3 separate regions of the Homo sapiens genome follow, and all the other regions are linked to region 2. Evidence: promoter capture Hi-C in 16 types of primary human blood cells and fetal thymus (Javierre and others, 2016). All regions are on one chromosome and are shown on one strand. Each heading gives the region's core, a stretch centred on a gene start or on the middle of the fragment in contact. The rest is flanking DNA. Distances are from core to core; before and after follow the strand shown. Region 1 overlaps ZBTB20 (zinc finger and BTB domain containing 20). Region 2 holds the start of GAP43 (growth associated protein 43). Region 3 overlaps ZBTB20 (zinc finger and BTB domain containing 20).

Region 1 (2,726 bases), core at 103-2,602, 570 kb before region 2:
TATATTATCAAACACCTTTATGTTTGTTTATATAAAAATAATTTTAATACATTTTATAAATTATGATACTTTAAAGAATGTATGCATTCCTAGGGGTCCTCTGAATCTCTCAATGATTTATTAACTTTTATTTCACTTTCTATAATCCCTACCATAAATATTCAGTCACATACCATCTCACGCATACAGGCATAACTGGCATGTAAACTTAGGTAACTTTTCACCGAAACTTTTATGTGCAGATGACAGTTCTGATTAAAGGCTATGATCAATATGTCCTCTGATATGGACATATGGTTAAAATATCACTGTGTAGTTTTCCCTACAGAAAAGGGTAATAATAAAAGGATGGTAATAAGATGAAAGGTACTCTACAACTCTATTAGAAACAATAGAAAAACAAAGTCAATCCAAAATCATAGGAGGACAAAATTACAAACTATTGTTTTTAAAATAATGATCTATCATTTTTTAGCACAATCTTCAATTTCAGGTATAAGCTTCAATTCCTATACTCAGAAATTCCAAAACGCTGTTATTTAAATTATTAATGATTTAACGGAAATTTTATAATACTAAAACTTAAAGCTTAAGGTATCTTGGCTAAATTTTTTTGCTAGGTACATTCATTCAATAATTCATTCAGACATTTAGGTAATAATTAAATGACTATTAAAGTCCTACTATATTTTGGGTAGTATGTTAGTTCCTATGGTGACAATGAGAAGAAAAAAGCAGACACAATTCCGTTTTCATATTACTAATGCCTTGTGGGAACCAGACATTAATCAATAATCATAAAATTATTATATAACTATAAATAGATTTTGGAGAGAAAAATGAGATTCCATGATAGCATCTGAGGAAAAAAAATTGACATGCTTAAGAAGATTTCACTGAGAAAGTGATGTTTAAGCTGATATGATAGATGGGTAGGAGTTTAGAGACTAGCAAATTAAAGCTAATAGGGACCAGGATTAATATTAAGAGGTTCTTTTTTAAATGAATACATAGGTATTCATAGGTAGTAAGAGCTGTTGATTAGTAAATTGTTGGGACAGGAATTAACGTTGTTACAGTAATACCTTCAAAATAGTTTGTTTTCCTAAATTGGCGAGAAATCATTCTAGAAATGCTGGCCATAGGATCTTTGTGTTTGACAAACCCGTGTTTTGTAAGACAAATTTCAGCAAGTTCTTTTTCCAATTATCATAAATTTAGAATTATATTTTCTGTCTTCATCCAGTTTCACACTGCTCTAAAGAACTACCTCTGATTGGGTAGTTTATGAAGAAAAGAGGATTAATTGACTTAATAGTTCCACAGGCTGTACAGGAAGCATGCCTGGGGGGCCTCAGAAAACTTAAAGGTGAAGGGGAAGCAAGCATGGCTTACTATGGAGGAGCAGGAGAGAGAAAATGAAGAGGGAAGTGCTACACACTTTTAACCAACCAGATCTCGGTGAGAACTCACTCACTATCATGAGAACAGCAAGCGGGAAATTTGCACCCATGATCTGATCACCTCCCATCAAGTCCCTCCCCCAACATTGGGGATTAAAATACAACATGAGATTTGGGTGGGGACACAGAGCCCAACCATATCAGTGAAATCCTAATTGATGAGACTTTAGCCACAATTTAATGATATAATAAAACTTTCTAAAGATAAAAGTGTGGTTAGGCATGGTGGCTCATGCCTGTAATCCCAGCACTTTAGGAGGTGGAGGCGGGCAGATCACAAGGTCAGGAGATCCAGACAATCCTGGACAACATGGTGAAACCCTGTCTCTACTAAAAATACAAAAATTAGCTGGGCATGGTGGTGCATGCCTGTAATCCCAGCTACTCGGGAGGCTGAGGCAGGAGAATCGCTAGAACCAGGTAGTTGGAGGTTGCAGTGAGCCAAAATTGCACCGGTGCACTCCAACCTAGGTAATGGAGTGAGACGCTTTCTCATGGAAAAAAAAAAAGTGACTAGACCACAGTACTATCTTGTATACTAAAGAAATACAGAGTTAAAGAGATGAGATTATAATTATATTGCACTAATAAATGGAAATTCGTCATCTTTCCTCCTGCAAAGTTTAACTAAAAGACAAATATCTTGTTCAGGAAGAAGCTTGTCAAGTTTTCATTCCTATCACTGATTATCCTACAAACACACACACAGACACAAAAGTGAGCTAATTTAAGAAATCATAAATTTAAATTACTGAGAGTTTTGTTATAATGTTTGAGGTATATCTAATTTTCACTATAAACTGTAAATGCTATTATAGGAGACTCAGAAAATGCAAAAAGCTAGAAATTTCAGAAGATAAAATTATTCAGAATCCCATCACTGCAAAATGAGCACTGTAAAAATTTTCATGTTTGAATTGTTTTTAGTAATAATAATTTTCATTCTTTAATTGAATTTTTAATTAATTTCAAAAAACGTTTATAGCTAATCAAACTCTCTGGTCATTCAGTTTTTTGTACTCTTCAGTAAAGTCCACAGTAAAGGCTAATCTGAATGCTGACATCACTGCCTATAACTCTCTCTGTTGTGGTTTAGCCATTTTAGCTCCCCTTTCAAGAACAGTAATTCCCCCTGAACTAAATATTGTTAACCACAGATAAAGAAGTACAAAACAAAGCCTATGTTGTTTTCCTGTGAATCCAAATGAGAAATAACGACTTTAAAGCATTTGATCTATCCCTTTAAAAGATGTAACACATTGG
Region 2 (2,700 bases), core at 59-2,558:
CTTGCAAATGTCACCCGAATTTCAGAAAAGTACAGTCTCTGGAGTAAAGCTATTATACACTCAGAGAGACTGTTGTGCTTTGCATGCGTTATATCATTTAGTCCTCAAAACATGTTGTCAAGATTGGCATTATTATCTCCATTTTAAAGATGAGAAAATTAGGTGCAAAGAGCTTCAGTAACACACTCAAACTCATTCAACAATAAATAACTAAAAATTGTGCTATACACACTTTAAGAGTCACATGTTCCTCCCCCAAAATTATGAAAGGCCATAGAAGGAATTCAAGAAGTAGGCTTCATGACTTATCGTTTCTTCTCATCTCAGATGAATTCACTTTAATCTCTCATGCCCAAATTGTAAAATATCATTTTGATCACCGTCAATATTACACAGACCTGTTTGAATGTGCTCAGCTTTTTCAGTAAAATTAGAAGAAACCACAATTTACAAACAGGTATATGTGCATTAAGGAAAAAACAAAAAACTACCATGTGATTTTAGATATGGATGCCAATTCTTAAACATTGTTTATTATTTCTGAGCTCAAGTGCTTAGAATGTTTAAAATGCAATATATTTATGTGGATTTTTTTCCAGGATATTGGAACATATATAAAATATGCTTGTGCATATCTAAGCTTTGTATTTATTTCAGGTTATATGTATACTGAGAAGAATATATAAACAGTGTATGATATTTACATGTTATTTCATTTTTTGAGGGAAATTAACCTCCACAATTATTAACTATGCATAAAATGTAATGGCAGATATGACTTATATTGTATAGGACTGACTACAATTCCTCTTTAGAAATAGCTGTTCTTTGCTTTTATAATACTAGGAAAAGAGGAAAAGAGTTCTTAAAGAAATACAAGGATTCCTCAAGCCCCTCTTCCCTAAAACATGCTCTATCATATCTCCTGGATTGACTGGAATATCCTTCTCTGCCCCCACCCCATCACCCTCTCAATGCAGTGGAAAAGTCGGTGGGTAATTGGGTCCAGATTGGAGGTGTTTAAATATTCATGAGGCTGGCAGGGGACTGGGAGGGGGCGACTGTCTAGAATGGGGGTAGGGGCTGGGGGAAGTGATTAGTCACTGAAGGCTAGAGAACAATTCCGAGAAAGAGACGGAGAGAGAGGGAAGAAAAAGACAGATAGATAGATATTGGGGGGAAGGAGAAAAAAGGAGAAGAGAGGGAAGAGAGGACAGCGGAGAGAGAGCACCAGAGAGAGAGGGAGAGAGAGAGAGAGCGCTAGAGAGAGGGAGCGAGCATGTGCGATGAGCAATAGCTGTGGACCTTACAGTTGCTGCTAACTGCCCTGGTGTGTGTGAGGGAGAGAGAGGGAGGGAGGGAGAGAGAGCGCGCTAGCGCGAGAGAGCGAGTGAGCAAGCGAGCAGAAAAGAGGTGGAGAGGGGGGGAATAAGAAAGAGAGAGAAGGAAAGGAGAGAAGGCAGGAAGAAGGCAAGGGACGAGACAACCATGCTGTGCTGTATGAGAAGAACCAAACAGGTAGAGCTAAAGATTTTTTACTTCTTGCTGTTGTGAAATAACCCGAGTACAGTATTTCCCCGTAAAGGCAAACAATTTTTTTACTGCTTCTGCTCTGGCCGTGGTGCTCGCGCTTCCTTAGCATATGGTAACTGATGGTTGCATCCCAGCTTTTATTCTTTTCTGTCTTTCATGCTCTGGTTTTGGAATGCTGCTACTAATTAGGGTGAGGGTAGAAAAAACATGCCTGTTTGGCTAGAAATAATTTTTTTTTTTCTTATTAGTGAATGCTCAGCATTTGAGGTCTCTGGTCTTGAGGGTGTGGACGTAGAAAGGGGTGTGGGGGAGATGATGTGGGCTCTACCTACAAGATGGGGAGGCATTTCTTTATATTATTTGCAAAAAAGCAGGGTTGAGGAAATAATATTCAGAACTGAGTATTGCCTCTCTGTCATACAATTTTCTCACATGTGCTGCGGAAGATGCCTTATTTCGTGCATGCATGAGCTTCGAAGGGGCGCAGGTATTTATGGAAAAACGTGCAGGTCTTATTTATTTAGTATTTATTTTTCAATGAATGAATGAAACTGTGATTTGATAGATTTTTTTTTTTTTTAAGAGAAGCTAAGACAACTGGGGCTGGGGGAGAAATTGGCCATGCAGAAGGAGAAAATCCCCTTCCTAAGATCAGCAGCCGATTGTGCACCAGCTGGTCGGAGGAGAGGGTGGACCACGCCCCTAGGAGCTCCGATGGGATGGGAAAGACAGCCGGGTATTACCTGTTGGAAACCAGGTCTTTTCTCTTATCCCCTTCCCTTGCTTCTTTCCTGGGATTGTCAGTGACCAGAGACAGGCTAACATCCTGGATAATAAGTATGGTGACTCATTTTCATCAGGAAGAGGGACACATCCAAGATTAGCAAGAATCAGAGCCCCTCCTTCCCTCCCCCACTGCCCAGGTTTTACAGCCATTTCCAATTGCTCGCTTATTTCTTGAAAGACATTTTAGAAACTTGATTGGGGTGAGAGTGGGAAGGAATGACGAGTGTGGTATTCCGCAGCAACCGACCATGCCATGGCAGTCTCCAAAAGAAGCTTTCAAACATTTGTTGGAATGCATTTGAGTGATTTTGGCAAAGGTTAAAGAGAAAAATGGGTGTGGGATACGGGTGAGTGTGTGCGTATGCTTGACTGTGGTGGGGG
Region 3 (2,700 bases), core at 156-2,655, 530 kb before region 2:
TGGCCGACTGGGTCTACCAACATTAACACTGGCCTAAAGAGGAGTATTTTGCATTTCATGAATATTATATCATGCCTATATAGAAATAGGACATATTCTCTGATGACTTCTCCAAAATGTCATGTGTGTATTCATAGAAATGTCCAAAGGCATAGAGTGCAGCTTTGCCATTAGGAAGTCAGAAGTGAACTGCTTGCTATTGGCAAGGCAGTGGACACGGATCGCCTCTCCATCTAGTGGCCAGTGGAGAGGAGTGGAGCCATAGTAACCATGCTGCACTTCATTCCATTAAAAACAGCCCTTTTACCAAATCACCCATAGGCAATTAAGTCAGTTTGTCTGACAAATGACTATTTTTGGTTTATGGCATTCGTTCAATCATTAAACAGACTCAATAATACATTATGATATGTAGTTAAGCTAAGAAAAATCATCACAAAATTAAAGTGCCTGTGCTCTCTCAAGCCACATAAATGTCCGTTATTCTTCCTTTATTACCCACCCTAACTTTTCTCCATTTATTTGTGACTTTTAGATAGAAAATGCAAGCAAGATTATCTACATATATAGCTACTTAAAATCACAGTCTTTAAGATGAAAAAATATTTTAAAAAGCTTTCTCCTCATTTTACAGGAAGGAAACTGAGGGACAGAGAGATCATGATGTACTCAAAGTCACAAAGTCAGAACAAAAAACCAGACCTCCAGATTTAACCACTTTAAATCCTTTTTGATATTGATTAATACCTCCTGATTCCCCAGGAAATGCTTTTTGTATCACACCATAAAGTTTCTTTCAACATACCAGAAAAATAATTTCTAAAAATGTTTTTTATTCATATATTTTCAGACTAAGGTGATATAAGTGAAACTACTGTGTATAGGCCGTACCACATCTTCATATCCATAGGTATATTTTGAATGTGTTATAAGAACACAATTATTTTTATATTAAGGAATTACATTCATCCAACATTTAGAAAGCGAAAAAGCAAGTGGGGTAGGGAATAGGTGGATGTGTTGGTCAAAATTACTATACAAAAAATGGTTTCAGAAAGCCATTATGTGAAACAACCTGAATTCATTCAGACTGCTAGAAAAGTTCTTTTTGTTTTGTTTCATACAAATTATTTGACTTTGTTTTTAAAAAGGAAACACACGCACACTTATCCAGCTAATCACTTCATCTATTTTAATTCAGCATGTGATGCTGTTTGGGGGCATGTTTTGGGAATGTGTTGTTGGTAAAGCTTCTTATCAAAACAAATGAAATCTGTCCACCAACTATAAAAATCTGCTCACAACTCCGAACCCAAGAATTAAAGGGCAAAAGGTATGAAGGAAACCTGGCAGTGGATGTTCTAGAAATGTGAGATGTTTTGACTTTTTCTTCTATGATCTTCTTTGGTGGTACCACTGGAATCTGTCTTGGAGTGCAGAGGGAATTTATATAGATCTGCTTTAGAGAGATGCAAAAACTAATGCTGTACAGATAAGTCAAATGCTTTTTAACGGGAGTTAGGGAAGAAGTCTTTTTATTTCATTATACTTCTAAGTTTAGAAGCTTCAAAAGCACCAACCCCTCAGCTACCCTCAGCTTTACCCCTGTACCCTCAGCTTTATCCCTTCACATTATCTCAACTTCTCTCTACTTGTTTCTTAATCATCTCTAGTCGTCTCCCTTCTAGAAATGAGGTGAGGGGATAAAGATCACTGTTGATTTGGAGAACTAGAGAAAGTAAGGGCTAATATAAAAAGTAAGTTATTTTTGCCTTACCTAAAGCTAAGGTAATAGGTACAAGTAACCAAGAAGTGGAGAAATTAGTAAATATGGTCAGAACCAGAGTATATTTATTGGGCCAAGAAGAATTTTAATGTGTCCAGTATTTAAGAAGAAAAAAAAACAAAAAATTTATAAAGTCACCATTACAAAGTATTTGCCTAGTCTATTTAAATAATAAAAGAGAGGAACATTTTCTCACTGTTTAAATGTCTTGGTGCCTAAATAAGATATTTTTGTTTATTTAAAATGAAGCCACATAGTTTTCACATACACATATATATCAACTAGAAAAATTACATAGCCTGGAACATTTCTAGTTTTCTGCTAGTAATAGCTTTTTTTTTTTTTTAACTAAGTTTTAAGTTGCTACCTGAACAAACTGACAACATTAATTTTCTCTCAATTACATTCCATTTACAGGAAAGAAGTTCATACTATAAAAGGAATTGCAACAACAAATCACAATTTAATTACAACAGTAATTCACAGAAAATTTTTGAAAAGGTAAAAATGGCAAATATCTAAGCTAATTCAGTAAAAAACAAAAATGTAAAGCCTTCTAAAAATTAGAGAAAATTAAAATTTAAATAATTTTAAATGTTTCATTTTAAAAAGTTTAAATTAAGAATTTTCCCAATAACAAAAATAGTACTACTATGTATAAGATTCGTAATTATTACCATTTCTACATTTTTAGTTACAACCAATTGGGCATCTATCTTTTTGATATCCCATAACCCCAACCTCATACCATAATTTTATATTTGTTGAATGTAAATCCTTACATTAGTAATGTAATATAAAAACTTTCAAATAGATTGACCTTTTAAATGCATAATATGAACATTAAATTCATCATATCTCAAGACACAGAAGTATTCAGTGACAAAATTACTTCCAATATCAAGAAGGTAAAC

What was found. The method cuts DNA at HindIII sites, captures the fragments that hold promoters and counts their contacts. A CHiCAGO score of 5 or more calls a contact.
Region 1: a fragment that was not itself captured here is called in contact with the fragment with the promoter of GAP43 in region 2 in 1 of 17 cell types (total B cells); the score reaches 5.5 in total B cells.
Region 3: a contact is called between a fragment that was not itself captured here and the fragment with the promoter of GAP43 in region 2, in 1 of 17 cell types (total B cells). The highest score is 6.3, in total B cells.

What each region holds. Positions count from the first base shown.
Region 1 is chr3:115,050,500-115,053,225 of GRCh38, forward strand. All of the region lies in intron 2 of ZBTB20 (zinc finger and BTB domain containing 20), which reads right to left. Among named protein-coding and RNA genes, the nearest start is that of ZBTB20-AS4, 49 kb to the right of the region's middle. The HindIII fragment of the contact is 1,533 bases long and covers 587-2,119 here.
Region 2 is chr3:115,622,202-115,624,901 of GRCh38, forward strand. GAP43 (growth associated protein 43) reads left to right here and starts at 1,309. Exons shown (of 3, transcript NM_002045.4): 1 at 1,309-1,518. The coding sequence starts at 1,489. The HindIII fragment of the contact is 1,952 bases long and covers 639-2,590 here.
Region 3 is chr3:115,092,425-115,095,124 of GRCh38, forward strand. All of the region lies in intron 1 of ZBTB20 (zinc finger and BTB domain containing 20), which reads right to left. Among named protein-coding and RNA genes, the nearest start is that of ZBTB20-AS4, 6.6 kb to the right of the region's middle. The HindIII fragment of the contact is 314 bases long and covers 1,249-1,562 here.